2 separate regions of the Homo sapiens genome follow, and region 1 is linked to region 2. The links are contacts of gene promoters, found by promoter capture Hi-C in blood cells and fetal thymus (Javierre and others, 2016). All regions are on one chromosome and are shown on one strand. The core of a region is centred on a gene start or on the middle of the fragment in contact, and the rest is flanking DNA. Distances in the headings are between cores, read along the strand shown. Region 1 holds the start of CNN1 (calponin 1). Region 2 holds the start of TSPAN16 (tetraspanin 16).

Evidence for each region. Contacts are between HindIII fragments. The CHiCAGO score rates a contact against its expected background, and 5 or more counts as called.
Region 1: the fragment with the promoter of CNN1 here is called in contact with the fragment with the promoter of TSPAN16 in region 2 in 14 of 17 cell types (neutrophils, M0 macrophages, endothelial precursors and 11 more); the score reaches 14.2 in neutrophils.

Annotation. Positions count from the first base shown.
Region 1 is chr19:11,537,444-11,540,574 of GRCh38, reverse strand. It overlaps CNN1 (calponin 1), which reads right to left and starts at 1,724. Exons shown (of 7, transcript NM_001299.6): 1 at 1,585-1,724. The coding sequence starts at 1,647. RefSeq lists a silencer at 699-748 and an enhancer at 1,808-2,753. The HindIII fragment of the contact is 23,519 bases long and covers 1-3,131 here.
Region 2 is chr19:11,294,870-11,298,087 of GRCh38, reverse strand. It overlaps TSPAN16 (tetraspanin 16), which reads right to left and starts at 1,928. Exons shown (of 7, transcript NM_001282509.2): 1 at 1,722-1,928. The coding sequence starts at 1,790. The HindIII fragment of the contact is 19,527 bases long and covers 1-3,218 here.

The DNA of each region.
Region 1 (3,131 bases), core at 475-2,974, 240 kb before region 2:
CTCTGTCTCTGGTTAGTGGTGGGGGCTTGTCTCTGTCTTAGCCCCCACCCCTTGCACGTCTGTATGTCTCTCTCCCTCTTATCCCCCCGACTCCTCTGTCTCTCTCTTCCCCAGCGCTGTCTTTTCTTGGCCCAGTCTTGGGTCCCCATCTCTCTAGGTGGCTAGTCCCTGTCTGGCCAGGGGTAGGGCTCCTGGGTCTTGTATATCTGCCTCTCTAGGTCTTTCTCTGTCTCCAGGTTTCCTGCCTGGGGTGGGGGTGGTGGGGCTCTGTCTCCTCTCCCTGCCCCTCCATCCTTGTCTAGGTCTTATCTCGCTCCTGGCTCGCCCTCCCCCGTCTGTCCCTAGGGTGTCTCAGGCTCCCAGTATCTCTGTCTGCCTCTCCCCCCACCTCCCTGCTTTTCCCTCTCTCCACTGTCCCCCCCCTCCCCCACTCCACTCCCATTTCTCCAGAACCCTCCGCCCAAGCCCAGCCAGGCTCCCAGCCCCTAGGGGACCGGGCTGCCTCTTCTTCTCCCGGGTGAGTGGGGGGAGGTGGGAGGGGCGGCCCCCTCACCTGGCCCTGGCCCTGCCGCCCCCCACGCCACCAGCCCGGCTTTATAAAGCAAACCGGCCCTTATATAGCGTGGCCCGGGCTCCCCGAGGCCGCCTTATAAGGCGCGGCGTCTCTGCGCGGCTCTGCGCGGCTCTGGGGCCGGCGCTGGGGGGGAGGAGGGCGGCGCTGGGATCTGTCTCTCGCCCGAGGACCCGCCCCCCACCAGCCCCCTCCTCCAGCCCCGAGATCCCTCGACCCAGGTTCCAACCCAGTCCCCCACTTCCTCACCATGGGACCCTGGGAAAAGCCACCCTGAGCCTCAGTGTTCCCCTCTGTCAAATGGGGCAGGAACTCCTCCCTCGGCAATACTGTTGGGGCGATTCCAGTGGGCTGGAAACTTAAAGTTCTCCAGCTGGGAGAAGCTGAGCCCATCCTGGTGTATGGGGGGTGAGTCCAGGGTCCGAGCGCTGTACCTGCTTTACCTGGGACCCCAGCTATTTGCCTCTCCTCTCCGAACCTCAGTTTACCCAACCATAGCATGAAGGTGGTGTCCAGGTATCTTCCTAGCTCCACAGTCAGGAGACCCCTGCCGCACTTCTGATGCCCGCTTCCTGCCTTTCACCGTCCCCCTCTGTCTTCAGGATCTCCCACACTTTCACGGCGTCACTTCCCAGGTACCCCAGCACTCAAGCGCTCCCCAATTTCTTTGTCAGGCCGGGGGATATGGAAAAATCAACAAGTCTTCCCCCTATGTTGTTCCCCCCAAGAACACGAAGGGTTAACAGAAGACTGATCAGGTGGGTATCTTTGCAATGGACTGACCCCCTCTGTTTATGTGTGGCTGTGTGCCCCCCCATTCCAGCCCCAACCATAGCTGGGGGCTCCGGGATGTTCAGGGGGAGACAGGCAGCCCCTATCCCATATCACTCCCTTTTCCCCTCTCAGTTTCCAAGTCACATAGGATAGGCAGGAGGGGGTTCAAGGGACCCCAAGCTCAGGGCTCTGGCCTGGCAGGACGTGTGGGCCAGGCCAGGGAGGCCCTCCAGCCCTACCTTGTTCTTAACCTCGGCTGACAGCCCGTAGGCAGGGCCTCGGTTGAAGTGAGCAGAGGACATGCTGGCCGGTGGGCTCTGGCGGGGGCAGTGGCGGCACTGACGCTGAGAACAGAGGCAGCGGCTGAAGTTCCGTCTGCACACTCTTCCCTCCTCACATGTTTTTGAAGCTCCGGAGGCGACCCGGGTCTCTTCCAGGGCCGTTCCATTGGCTGTAGGGGCCTGCCAAGGGGCGGGGCACCTCCCCCCACAACCTCAGCTGCCTTCCCCTCCCCTTGTGATGTCAGGCCCTTGGTATTGGGAGCTGATTGTGTCATTGTTTCCACCTAGGGGGGCAGCCTGCGTTATTCTGGGGGGGCTTGGTCAGACAGAGACCAGCCTTCTTCCACCCACCCCTCCCACTGTCCATTGGGCCTCTGGCTGGGTCTGAGTCTCTTTGTCTCTGAGGTCATCTCTCTTTATCTCTCTGGAGTCTTGAAGCAGGACTGACACCCAAGGTAGTTTAGTGAGCACCATCCCGGGTTTATCTCCAGATACCAACAGTCTATAGCCTTAGGTAAGCCCCTTCTCCTCTCTGGGCCTCTATGGCCACATCTGTAAAATGGGCTAACGATAGTGCCTGCCTCATGGGAGAGTTGTAAAGATCAGAAGAATATGCCTGTTACATGCCCAGCACAGTGCCCGGCACAGCAGAGGGACTCGGGCCATAGCAGTCTTTTTAAGGCAAGGTTTCACTCTGTCCCCTCGGCTGGAGTGCAGTGGCACAATCACAGCTCACTGCAGCCTTGACCTCCCAGGCTCAAGTGATCCTCCCATCTCAGCCCATCCAAGTAGTTAGAATTGCAGACTTGTGCCACCAACCTGGCTAATTTTATTTTATTTTTTTAGAGATGGGGTCTCGCTATGTTGCCCGGGGTCTCGCTATGTTGCCCAGGCTGGTCTCAAATTTCTGGGCTCAAGCAATCTGCCCGCCTTGGCCTCCCAAAACGCTGGGATTTACAGGCATGAGTCACCATGCCCAGCCTATAGCATTCTTTATGCTGAGGGTCCAGCACCCCAGTTCTGTCTCCTCCAGCCCCTCATAAGGACCTGGGGGAGAAGAGATCCTGGGTCTCACCCTCCCCATCCACTTGTGTGTCACCTGAACTACAGGGTGACTTTGTTGGCAAGTCCCAGGCCGTGAACTGTGTCCCTGTCAAACAGCCCTACCCAGCCAGATCTCACCCCTGGACCACAGGGGTGGATGCTATGCCCACATCATGCCCCACATGGCAAGGCCATGTTTGTGACACTTGGATGACATGTCTGCAACCTGCCACACACTAATGATATGTTGAGGATATGCAGTTTATCGGTCACATGCTAATGGCATGGCTGCAATATGCCACAGACTACAGCCCTTATGTCAGGCCATGTTCCAACTCTGTACATATATCCATTCAATTCTCATGACGCCCTCAGAGATGGACACTGTTATTATTATTATTATTATTATTATTATTATTATTTGGAGACAGAGTCTCTATTCCCCAGGCTGGAGTGCAGTG
Region 2 (3,218 bases), core at 679-3,178:
AGAACTGGGTGAGTGCGGTGGCTCATGCCTGTAATCCCAGCACTTTGGGAGGCCAAGGCCAAGACTTGAGCCCAGGAGTTCAAGACCAGCTTGGTAAGACCTCATCTGTACCCTCTCCCCAACAAAAAAAAAATAGCCAGTAGTAGTGCGTGCCTGTAGTCTCAGCTACTCAGGTGTCTGCAGTGGGAGGATCACTTTAGCTCATGAGGTTGAGACTGCAGTGAGCTATGACTGTGCCACTGTACTCCAGCCTGGATGACAGATCAAGACCTTGTCTCAAAAAATAAAATAGGCCAGCCACAGTGGCTCACACCTGTAATCCCAGCACTTTGGGAGGCCGAAGCAGGTGGATCACCTGAGGTCAGGAGTTCGAGACCAGCCTGGCCAACATGGCGAAACCCTGTCTCTACTAAAAATACAAAAATTGGCCGGGCGTGGTGGTGGGCACCTGTAATCCCAGCTACTCAGGAGGCTGAGGCAGAAGAATCGCTTAAACCTGGGAGGTGGAGGTTGCAGTGAGCTGAGATCATGCCACTGCACTCCAGCCTGGGTGACAGAGCAAGACTCCGTCTCAAAATAAAATAAAATAAAATAAAATAAAATAATGTCATAGGACAGGGATTAGCAATTTTTTTTTTCTGAAAAACCCAGATGTTGTGGCCTCTGCAGGACTTAAGGTGTCTGTTGAAACTACGCAGTTCTATTGGTGTAGCCCAAAAGCAGCTGTTCACAATCTCCAAATAAGTGAGCACGGCCATGTTCCAATAACACTTTATTTTGTATTATTATTTTTTAAATAGAGATGGGGATCTCACTATAGCTGGTCTCGAGCTCCTGGCTCAATGGATCTGCCCACCTCGGCCTCCCAAAGTGCTGGGATTACAGGCATGAGTCACCACAGCCGGCCTTAATTCTCTTTAAAATGTTACAAGTGAAGAGGAGGAGTGATATTTCATTTCCTTCTCTTTCCTGGCAGCTTTTCCTTAGACTATGCTACAATGAAGACAATTACTTCTTTTTATGTTTTTATTCTTTTATTTTTTTATTGAGACAGAGTCTCGCTATGTTGCCCAGGCTGGAGTGCAGTGACACAATCTCGGCTCACTGCCAACCTCTGCCGCCCAGGTTCAAGCAATTCACATGCCTCAGCCTCCTGAGTAGCTGGGATTATAGGCACGTGCCACCACGCCCATCTAATTTTTTTGTATTTTTAGTAGAGATGGGGTTTCCCCATATTGACCAAGGCTGGTCTTGAACTCCTGACCTCGTGATCCACCCGCCTTGGCCTCCCAAAGCGTTGGGATTACAGGCATGAGCCAGCGCCCCCGGCCTGACAATTCCTTAGCAATGTACATTTCGGGTTACTTTTACGGTAAGGAAAAAAATGTGACAAATTTAAAAGATCAAGAAAATAACCCTTTCTCCTGGCCTTCCCAAACAACTTGGTCGGCTACAGGATTTGACTTAGAGCCAAGCTCTTCCATCACCCACCTGGGCTCCCCCAGATCACACTCATCTGTGCTGGATTTCACCAGCTCTCGGTTGATGGAGGTCCCCACGCTCCCTGCTCCTCCTCCTCCGTCTGCCCTACATCCCTCCTGCTTCTCCAGGGAACCACAGATCTCGATGCCAATTTGGATCAACTTATTTCTGTCTTTCAGGGAGCTGACTGTGGAGGAAGGGCTGCAACAAACCAGGGGCCTGGATTGTGACATACTTACAGCCACGAAGCCATTGAGTAAAGATAACAGTTTCTTCAAGGAAGAATACGGAGTGTGGATTTCAGCCATGCTGAACAGACTGGGGCACCCTGAACATTTAAGTTAACATCTTCCTGAACCTCTGGGCTACTGTTTCCCAAGATGATAGGGATCTGAGGAAGGGGCGCCAATGCTGACTTGCTCTGCCCCTCTGTGTCCTGGCTGCCTGATGGTTGTCCAAGGCGGCCCAGCAGCTGCCCCCTGCCCTGGTCATAAGCCTTTTATCACATCACAATTGGGTTCTGGAGCAAGGCTCATGGTCCAGGGAAATCAGGTGCCCCAAACTGCCCCCTGTTGGCTCCTCATCCTTCAAACAGGTCACAGCAGGGAAAGAGAACAGGCATGGTATGCTACCCTGGTACCCTCCAGATGCCACCAGGACCCTGTGGGCATAGTGCCCAGAGCTAACCACTTGCACAGTTGACATCTCCTAGTAGACTGGGGGATCCAAGCGGGGGAGGGGGGAACTTGGGCTGTCCTATTAACAGCTGTGACCCCTGCCAGGCGCAGTGGCTCACACCTGTAGTCAAAGCATGTTGGGAGGCGGAGACGGGCGAATCACCTGAGGTCAGGAGTTTGAGACCTACTAACAATACAAACAATACAAAAATTACCTGGGTGTGGTGGCACACGCCTATAATCCCAGCTACTTGGGAGGCTGGGGCAGGAGAATCACTTGAACCCAGGAGGTGGAGGTTGCAGTGATCTGAGGTCGTGCCATTCCACTCCAGCCTGGTTGACGGAGTGAGACTCTGTCTCAAACAAAACAAAACAAAAACAAAAACAGCTGTGTCCCCAAAGCCTGGCACTGCAGTACTTAAGAAACCCGCGGAGAATGAATGAATGGATCCAGAGGCTCTGTGATGCAGAAATCTAGCTACAAGCCACCGGGCCTCCCAAGCCCAAGCCCATACTTGGCCCATCCTTCATACAGGGCTCAGAGAGGCCAAGGGAACTGCCTGAGGCCACACAGGAAGCAAGACCAGGCTTTGAAGCCCCAAGAGTAACATGAGGGCAGGAACCTGTAAGGCAGAGAGTCCTGGAACTGTGAGCCATTGGTCACTGGGTTTTTTTCTTTTGAGACAGGATCTTGCTCCATTGCCCAGGCTGGAGTGCAGTGGTGTGATCATGGCTTACTGCAGCCACGACCTCCCTGGCTCAAGTGATCCTCCCACCTTAGCCTCCCAAGTAGCAGGTCATTGGGCTTTTCTCCATGGTGATAGATGTAGTTAGCATTTCAGGACCAAAAACCTTCTGTATGTCAGCACTGAAGACCTCCAGGCCTAGATCCTGCAGTCTGTAGCCCACTTTGCCCCCATACCTCCCCACCCTAACCATAGCAGCTTCACATTGCCCCACCCCGATCCCCTCTCTGTCCAGCCCTGGGCTGGGGTGTGTCTGGGTCCAGGTCCTGCATGGATTGGGGGAAGGCGGATGGTTCAAATGGGAGAAAATACC